3 separate regions of the Homo sapiens genome follow, and regions 2 and 3 are each linked to region 1. The links are contacts of gene promoters, found by promoter capture Hi-C in blood cells and fetal thymus (Javierre and others, 2016). All regions are on one chromosome and are shown on one strand. The core of a region is centred on a gene start or on the middle of the fragment in contact, and the rest is flanking DNA. Distances in the headings are between cores, read along the strand shown.

Evidence for each region. Contacts are between HindIII fragments. The CHiCAGO score rates a contact against its expected background, and 5 or more counts as called.
Region 2: a contact is called between a fragment that was not itself captured here and the fragment with the promoter of EMP1 in region 1, in 3 of 17 cell types (megakaryocytes, monocytes and endothelial precursors). The highest score is 7.4, in megakaryocytes.
Region 3: a fragment that was not itself captured here is called in contact with the fragment with the promoter of EMP1 in region 1 in 4 of 17 cell types (monocytes, megakaryocytes, M2 macrophages and 1 more); the score reaches 7.2 in monocytes.

Annotation. Positions count from the first base shown.
Region 1 is chr12:13,195,102-13,198,415 of GRCh38, reverse strand. It overlaps EMP1 (epithelial membrane protein 1), which reads right to left and starts at 1,690. Exons shown (of 5, transcript NM_001423.3): 1 at 1,544-1,690. The HindIII fragment of the contact is 10,564 bases long and covers 1-3,314 here.
Region 2 is chr12:13,032,182-13,035,185 of GRCh38, reverse strand. No RefSeq gene overlaps it. Among named protein-coding and RNA genes, the nearest start is that of FAM234B, 11 kb to the left of the region's middle. The HindIII fragment of the contact is 5,242 bases long and covers 1-3,004 here.
Region 3 is chr12:13,004,835-13,007,835 of GRCh38, reverse strand. The region is part of intron 2 of GPRC5D-AS1 (GPRC5D and HEBP1 antisense RNA 1); the gene reads right to left. Among named protein-coding and RNA genes, the nearest start is that of HEBP1, 6.1 kb to the right of the region's middle. The HindIII fragment of the contact is 5,436 bases long and covers 1-3,001 here.

The DNA.
Region 1 (3,314 bases), core at 441-2,940:
CTAAAGGAAAAGCCTAACTTTGTCAGACAAGCTGAATCCTGTCATTCTCATCTTGTTTACTTGGGGAAAAAATATACCAGTGTCTATGTTGAAATGGGCCACACCTCGGTAGACACTCACCCAAAATGCTAACCGAAAAAAAGAAAAAAAGAAAAAAAAGAAAAAGCACCCTTCTTCATTCCTCCAGATTTCATGATTAGCATGAGTGTTTGCATTTATACAATCACATTTCGGGAACAAGAGAAAAGATAAGCATTTCAAAACAATCACTGCCTTCCATGCAAAGAAATTCCACATCCACTTTCTTTTAAAAGTTCTTTTATCGTTTCTGGTATGCCATCTTTTCACTCAGCACTGAAAGGCAGCTCTTTCTGGGGTGAAAGCACAAAGCCACTCAACAATTTTTAACAGGCACAGATGAAGTTCTCCTGCCCCACCCTCTTCTCCAAACCCAGCTTCCCTTTTGCCTCCCCCGCCCTCCACATCTGGCCAAGAGAAGGCATCTGGAATCCTCATCAGCTCCTGCTTCGACCAAGTGAACCCCTCCCACGTTTCATTTAAAACACCATTTGCCTCCCTCTCTTTCTCTCTCTAACAGTTTTCTTTTTTCATTTTTTTTCTTTTTCTTTTTTTTCCTTTTTGAGACAGAGTCTCACTCAGCTGCCCAGGCTGGAGTGTAGTGGCGCAATCTCAGTTCACTGCAACCACCATCTCCCGGATTCAAGCAATTCTCCCGTCTCAGCCTACCAAGTAGCTAGAATTACAGGCACCTGCCATCATGCCTGGCTACTTTTTGTATTTTAGTAGAGACAGGGTTTCACCATGTTGGCCAGGCTTGTCTTGAACTCCTGACCTCAGGTGATCCGCCCGCCTCAGCCTCCCAAAGTGCTAGGATTACAGGCATGAGCCACCGTGCCCGGCCAACAGTTTTCTTTAAACAAACCAATCCCCCTCTTCCCATCCTGTGAGGAGAAAAAAAATACTTAAATTTAAACAGAAGTGAATAGGGAAGCAAACAGGCAGGAAAAGCAATGTCAAAAATAAACTGAAAACCAGTTATCTATCCACCACCACCCAAAAAATCCCAACCAACAACCAGCGAGCAGAGTAACAGTTCAAGTCCTGAAGCAATCGGAATCAAAACGGAGGAGGTGAAAAACATCTGGCCAGTTCCCGATGTCATTTCCAAGGTGTGTGGTGTTTCCTCCATAAACAGGATCCTATCCCAGTTTGTTTCAAAGTCCCTGCTCCCTCCACATCCTAGAACAAGAACCCGGTCACTGCCAGGCACGATTTTAGCCCCATCCCATTGATTTCCCCAGACTCCGTCCTCAAAATACACTTTTCTGAACTTTCTAGAAAAAGTTGTCTCTGTATCCACTTTGAGCCAAAAGTTTCAAGGACTTGGTTCTTAGAGGATCATAGAAAAATAGCGAAGGAAGAAAAGAAAAAGCAAAACTAAGATGAGGTCAGAAGAAGCAGAGCCGTGGAAAGGAAGGAGAAGTTTTGCTGAGAGTCCCCACAGCGTTGGGAGCTGTCCTACCTGAAGGGTCCCAGCGACAGAGGCGCTCTGAGTGGCAGGTGCTGGCAGCAGCCCTGGTCCGCTCTTCTGGAAGTATGTGACCGCACTGAGGGGAAGGACCTGCCTCCCGAGGTTATAAGTTTCCTCTGCTGGTGTACTGGGGTGTGTAATGGGCGGTTTCTTTTCACCGTGTTTTAAAGGAGTTTCTATGAATCAGTCTGGCTTTAAAAAAAAAAAAAAGATTTGTTGGTAAGCTACGCCCTGCTAAGCTGGCAGTCAGTCAAGAGTGGCTGGGAGTGAGCCATCAATTCAAAGAACCCTGTTGTAGGCTCTCTCTGACTCAGACACACAGACCACAGTGGAAAAAAGGAGGGACATTGCTTCAAATGAGTAACAGGATCACACAAATAGATCTGTTTACTGAAGCCCATTCCTCCTCACCAAAAAGGAGACTTGGTTACCATGGACATAAGGCAAAACACAAGGTTTCAGCCTGGGAGGGGGAGGAAAGGGGCCAGTGTCCTGCTGACTGAAGTCCTAGGTCATCATCAAGCGAGATTCCCAGTCTTCCTCCCCCATTAAAAGCATCAGCTGCTGCTCACTGTCAGGAATTATCAGATTCCTTTTTTTATTTACTTCCCTGCCTGACCCTGGTGCACTGTCCTGTGGGTGGCTGTACAGGGAGGCCCTGAAGGCGAAGGGGACACACTAGGAGCTCTTGCAGCCCTGCCTCTGAGTGATGGAGCACTGATTGAACAGCAGAGAATTCCTGGTCTTTCATTATGCTCTGCTAGTGCCCGTGTGGACTCTCCACATTCCAGGAGGAAGTCCTCTAGTTAAGAACTTTGCTCTCTGTAATAATCAGCTGGACCTTGTTCTACAATTGACTTTCTTGAACTTGGCCAGTAGCATAATCATCCCTACTACCTCCCTGCACCACTCCTCTCTCTCTCTCAACTCTGGAGCTGGGAGAGGCCTGTGAAGTCATCTCATCCCACAGCCCAGGCATTCCACTGGAGAGAGTAAAAGCCCAGATGCCTGAGTTCAAGCCCAGCTCTCCACAAATTTGCTGTGTGACTTTAGGCAAACCACTTAACTTCTCCATGCCTATTTTCTCATGCATAAAATGGAGATGGCAGGTATGTAACTCATAGAGCTATGATGAGAAATACACATATAGGGGCTCATGGCAGTGTGCATAGTGAGCGCTCAACAAATCTTAGCTACAAGGATTATTTTACTGAAGAAGCAGCTCAGGCCCAGAGAGGTGAAGTGACTTATTCAAGGAGATACAGTACGTTACCAGTAGCAGCTTGGATCTAGGTCAGCACATCCAAGCAATTCTATTTCTGTTATTCTCTGCTGCACCCTGACAACTTATTTCAATTCAAAATATGCGTGTGTAGTATTTATTCATTCATTCTGCCAATACAGGCTGCACGTCAGTCTTCACTGGGCCTGATTCAGAGCACTGAGTCACAGAAGTGAATGACATCCCTGCCTCTTGGAACTTATATTCCCTAAAAAGATAGAAAACAGACTGGTGGCTATTCACCAAAATGTTGATCAAATTCGATGATAAAATTATGGATGCAGTTTAGTTTGTTCTGGTCACAATTCTGTATTTTCCAAATCCTCTGCAATGAACCTATATTACTGTCTTTAGGATGTTGGCATGTGGATGGATGGATTTTAGGAAAAAATATTTTAACATGGGAATGTGGAGAATATTTTCTAAGGTGGATGATAAGGAAAACACAACACACACACACACACACACACACAATGATTT
Region 2 (3,004 bases), core at 107-2,606, 160 kb after region 1:
AATAAATATAAAAATAAATTATCCCTAACACACAATCATGCTAAATACTATCCATAGTCTCACTCCTACAGAGTTAACACTTTCAGCTTTCTTTATTTGAAGCACATTGTTTAATGTAATTTTATGAATGACCTAAGAATTACTTCTTTTTTTTTTTTTTTTTTTTTTGAGACAAAGTCTTGCTGTGTCACCCAGGCTGGAGTGCAGTGGCGCAATCTCGGCTCACTGCAAGCTCCACCTTCCAGGTTCACGCCATTCTCCTGCCTCAGCCTCCCAAGTAGCTGGGACTACAGGCGCCCGCCACCACACCCAGCTAATTTTTTGTATTTTTAGTAGAAACAGGATTTCACTGTGTTAGCCAGCATGGTCTCGATCGCCTGACCTTGTGATCCGTCTGCCTAGGCCTCCGAAAATCCTGAGATTACAGGCGTGAGCCATCGCGCCCAGCCAAAAAATACTTCTTAAGTATTTTTCATTATAATCTTGCCTCCAAGATAATCTAATAAAACCTGATCATCTTTAACTTCTGGCAGCTTTCTGGGTTTGGAAGCAAGCATGGTTTGTCAACCTGGGGTTTGATGTGAGGCTTAATTTCTCTCTAGGATGACATTTGAGGGTTTTTGTATTTGTTTTGTTTTGGTTGTTGTTGTTTTTTGTTTTTGAGATGGGGTTTAATTTTGTTGCCCAGGCTGGAGTGCAGTGGCACGATCACAGCTCACTGCAGCCTCAACCTGCTTGGCTCAAGCAATTCTCCTGCCTCAGCCTCCCAAGTAGCTGGGACTATAAGTGTGAGCCACCATGCCTGGCCCAGTTGAGGTTCTGAGAGGAATAATCACAATGGCAGAGCTAAAAATGTGCATGTAACCACAAACTAGAGAGAGTTGTGAGACAAATAAATCTACTGTTACCTTTGCCACCGCAAATAGTTTTATTTCTTCTTTTATGTTTTATTCCTTCCAAGAGTTTATCTTTAAGGAACTAAAGGCTCTGGAACTTTTCAAGGACCTCTGTATGAAAAGCTACCTTTTACTTGTCCAGTTCATAAAATCTCACTCACTTCTATTTCTTCTTTCTTACCATAAATATTCTCCTTTTATATTTTAGTCTTCAAGATCTGGGAATTTTATTCTTTAATCAAATGATTAATTTTTGGTCTCTTACCCCAGCCTTAATGACCAAAGGAGGATTGTTTAGATTTTTCTGAAAGGTATTTCCTAACACAAATCATTTTCTTTCTTTCTCTGACTCAATTTTTAAAACCCTAGTTTTATTCTTCTCCTGAGAGATTTTGCATGAAGCTAATCTTTTTTCCACTTCTGCAATCTTAAAGAACAACACTGGTCTGATTTGAAAAGATATTTTGTGATAAATTTTTCCTCATCATTTTTTAGGGGAATACTTATTCCCCAACCCTCAGATTCCCATGTGGAACGGTTTTCACTAGAGTATCTTGTGAGTCTCCTGACTAGTGTTCAAAGGAAGGAAGCAGGTCATGCTTAGCATAGCTGCTTCCCCTTGAGACTCATTCACTGATTCATTTTTAAAATTACTTATCCAGGCTGAATGCAGTGGCTTATGCCTGTAATCCCAGCACTTTGGGAGGCCAAGGCAGGCAGATCACTTGAGCCAGGAGTTTGAGACCAGCCTGGCCAACGTGGTGAAACCCCATCCCGACTAAAAATACAAAAATTAGTCAGGCATGGTGGCGCGCCTGTAATCCCAGCTATTCAGGAGGCTGAAGCAGAAGAATCGGTCAAAGCCGGGAGGCAGAGGTTGTAGTAAGCACCACTGCACTCCAGCCTGGGCAACAGAGTGAGTGACACTCCATCTCTAAAATAAAATAATATAATATAAAAAATAAAATTATTTATTCAACAAATATTTGAGCAGTCATTACTGAAAGGCCCTATTCTAGATGCTGGGGATGTCAGACCAGACAAAACAGACAAAAGTCCTTGTCCACATCATGTATGTTTGTGGGAACTATGAGGTCAAGCAGAGAAGAGAAATAGTTAAGTAAAATATATGCTGTGTCAGATGGTGATAAGTATTACAGAAAAATAGAATAGAGAAGGGGAGATGCAATGTGGAAGTCGCAGGGAGTGGTGGGCAGATGTCCAATTTTAAATAGGATGGTTAGGGAAGGCTTCAGTAAGAGGATGATATTGGAAGAAAGATCTAATAGAGGCATCATGAATAAAAAGAACTTGGAGGCAGAAGCATACCTGTCCTGTTCGAAGACCAGCAAAAAGGCTGCCAGAAAGGATAGTTTTTCTTCTTTTTTTTTTTTTCTTTTTTTTTCTGAGACAGAGTCTTGCTCTGTTTTCCCATGCTGGAGTGTGGTGGTGCTGTCTCCGCTCACTGCAACCTCCAACTACCAGGCTCAAGCGATTCTCCTGCCTCAGTCTCCCGAGTCACTGGGATTACAGACACCTGCCACCACACCTGGCTAATTTTTGTATTTTTGTATTTTTAGTAGAGATGAGGTTTCACCACGTTGGCCTGGCTGGTCTCAAACTTCTGGCCTCAAGTGATCCACCCGCCTCGGCCTCCCGAAGTGCTGGGATTACAGGTGGGAGCCACCGCGCCCAGCCAGGAAAGGATGGTTCTAGGGAGAGATTAGAGATTAGATGAGGTCAGATATGGCCAGAGTAGGAACAGATTCTGTAGACTTGGTAGGGAAAATAAAGACTTTGGCTTTTAGTCTAGATTAAATAGAGAGACTTTGAAAGCCTTGAGGCACAGAAGTGTTTATTTGACTTAGATTTTAAAAGTGTTCCTTGAGATCACTTTGCTGTTCTGAGAACAGACTGTGGGGGTACTGGCAGTGATGAATCACTTTTGACTATTACAATGACCCAAGCCAGAACTGATGGTGGTTTAGACTAGGGTAGTTTCTTTGAGGGTGGGGGGAAGTGGTAGGATTCTTAACTTAATTTGAAGGTAGAGCCGGCAGGATTTGTTGAAGAACTGAATGTATGGCATGAGAGAAAAAGGTGTCAGG
Region 3 (3,001 bases), core at 358-2,857, 190 kb after region 1:
CTCCTGAGTTCAAGCAATTATCATGCCTCAGCCTCCTGAGTAGCTGGGATTACAGGAATGAGCCACCACACTGGACTAATTTTTGTATTTTCAGTACAGACGGGGTTTCGCCATGTTGGCCAGGCTGGTCTTGAACTCCCGACCTCAGGCAATCTGACTGCCTTGGCCTCCCAAAGTGCTGTGATTACAGGCATGAGCCACTGCGCCCGGCATCTAAAATATTTTTATTTCTTTCAGAGCTGCTATCTGTCATATGATGCTATACAAGGTTACAATTTGGTATCTTATTGCTACAAAGAGTCTGTGTTTTCAGCCTTAAGATTTAATGTTAATACTGGTCAGTTGTGCCTGAATTCCAAAAGGAGGAAGGTATAATGAGGCATGATGGGACCCCCACTTCCCATCATGGCCTGAACTAGTTTTTCAGGTTTCTTTGGAATTCCATTGGCTGAGACGAGGGGTCCATTCAGTCGAGTGGGGGGCTTAGAATTTTTCTTTCAGTTTATACACACTCAACAGTATTCAATCATAATACCTAATAAATTGCAAAGGAAAATGTCTCACAGCATACCAAATTCTTCAGATAAAGAAAGACACCAAATAGCTGGGCATGGTGACTCATGCCTATTATCCCAGCACTTTGGGAGGCTGAGGCGGGCAGATCACCTGAGGTCAGGAGTTCGAGACCAGCCTGGCCAACATGGTGAAACCCTGTCTCTACTAAAAATACAAAAATTAGCTGGGTGTGCGCCTGTAATCCCAGCTACTTGGGAGGCATGCGCCTATAATCCCAGCTACTTGGGAGGCTGAGGCAGGAGAATCACTTGAACCTGGGAGGCTGAGTTTGCAGTAAGCCGAGATCGTGCCTGGGAGACAGAGCAAGATTCCATCTCAAAAAAAAAAAAAAAAAAAAGGCAAGACACCAAATAATCTGGACTTTAAAATGATGCTTCCCCACAATGCTCTTGAAGCAGCAATGTTCAGCCCTTGGTAGCAGGACAAACTTGACCACTGGTGTGGGGAGAATCTAGCCCTTAACAGTGTATACAGTGCTTTTTATTGCCTGGACTCCTTTAATCCTCCCGACAGCACTGTGAGCTGGCATTATTACCCCAGTGTTGCAGATGTAGAAAGTGAGTTCTGAGGCCAGGTGCAGTGGCTCACACCTGTAATCCCAGCACTGTGGGAGGCCGAGGTGGGAAGATCACTTGAGCCAAGGAGTTTGAGACCAACATGGGCAACATAGCAAGACCCTGTCTCTAAATTTAAAAAAAGAAAGAAAGTGAGTTCTGCAGAGGTTAGGAAATTTGCAGAAGAAATATTCATTACACTGGTAGGACAGAGCCAGATTGGAATCCCCATCTTTTGACCCGATGTTTTCTGATTCCCAAATACTTCCGCTACTTGACCATACTGAGTAATAGAGCCCATTGCACTGTATATAGTTTAGTAACTAAAATAGATGACTAGCTCTAATATCAAGAATGTTTTAAATCATTCCACACTTACTGAGCATCCTCTGTGTGTGGCTAGTGAGGGAAGTGCTAAAGAAAAATAGATCTTGCCTTTTAAAAGATTAGTTTGTTATAAAGGAGGTATGGTTGTGAGCAAAAATACTCAAGAGACCCTTACAAAGCAACCTAAGAATCTCTTATGAACTCCAAGCTGCATGCTATTTCACATTTTAATGTCTCTGGATGCATTTAAAATCAATTGAATGTCATAGTTTACTTAGTAGCATTTGTTTTTTTTCTTGGTGGCACATAAAATAACAGGGCCTGTCTTATAATCAATAGCATCTTAGAGTCAAGGAACTATGAAATAATTAAATGGCAATTTACTTTATAGCAATGAACAAATATTTGTCAAAGGGCAAATATTTTTTGTCTGGAGTTAATAAAGTTAATATCTTTTACCACAAAGCTAGAGGTCAACAGTACCACTATTATTGATTGCCACTACCTGGCTCCGGCTCAACTTCCCCTTGCTCAGGAGGAAAGCACAGCAGGCAATCCCTCAGCTCTGGTTTAGGGCAGCTGCCACAAATTAGTCTGACAATTAGGTTAACAATTTCAAATGACAATGCAACCAATGGGTAAAACATGCATAAAGAATCCTCATAAAGGCCAGGCAGGTTGGCTTAATTTAACCACTTTGGGAGGCGGATGGAGGAGGATCAACTGAGGCAGGAGTTTGAGACCAGCATGGGTAACATAGTGAGATTCCCTTCTCTGCAAAAATGTATTAAAAATTCACTGGCAGTAGTGGTGCACACCTGTAGTCCCAGGTAGTCAGGAGGCTGAGGTGGCAGGATCACTTGAGCCCAGGAGTTCTAGGCTGCAGTGAGCCATGATCGCACCACTGCTCCCCAGCCTGGGTGACAGAGCAAGATCCTCTCTCAAAAAAAGAAAAATAGGCTGGGCAAAGTGGCTCACACCTGTAATCCCAGCACTTCGACAGGCCAAGTTGGACGAATTGCTTGAGCCCAGGAGTTTGAGACCAGCCTGGGCAACATGGAGAAACCTTGTCTCTACAAAAAATAGAAAAATTAGGTGTGCACCTGCAGTCCCAGCTACTTGGGAGGCTAAGGTGGGATGAGCACTTGAGCCAGGGAGTTCGAAGCTGCAGTGAGCCAAGCTCATGCCACTGCACTCCAGCCTGGGCAACAGAGTGAGATCCTGTATCAAAAAAAAGAAAAGAGAATCCTCAAGTAGGCAGAATATTAGAACAAATGAGATGACAAGAGAGTTCAGACAGGACCACACAGTGTTCATGGACACAGTGTTTGAGGGACACTTTCAGAGAAGTCAGTTTCAAGGAGTGAGTCCAAGGGGGAAGCTGGACATTTAGAAAGTATTTGGAAAGCAGTGCCATATGTAGATGTAGATACAGGTCGGAAAAGCCAGGGTGACAGAGTACAAAGCATTATGGACGCTGACAACACAGACATGAGTTCAAATCCTCACCAAGCCACACATTAGTTGTTGCCTGGGAAAGTTAC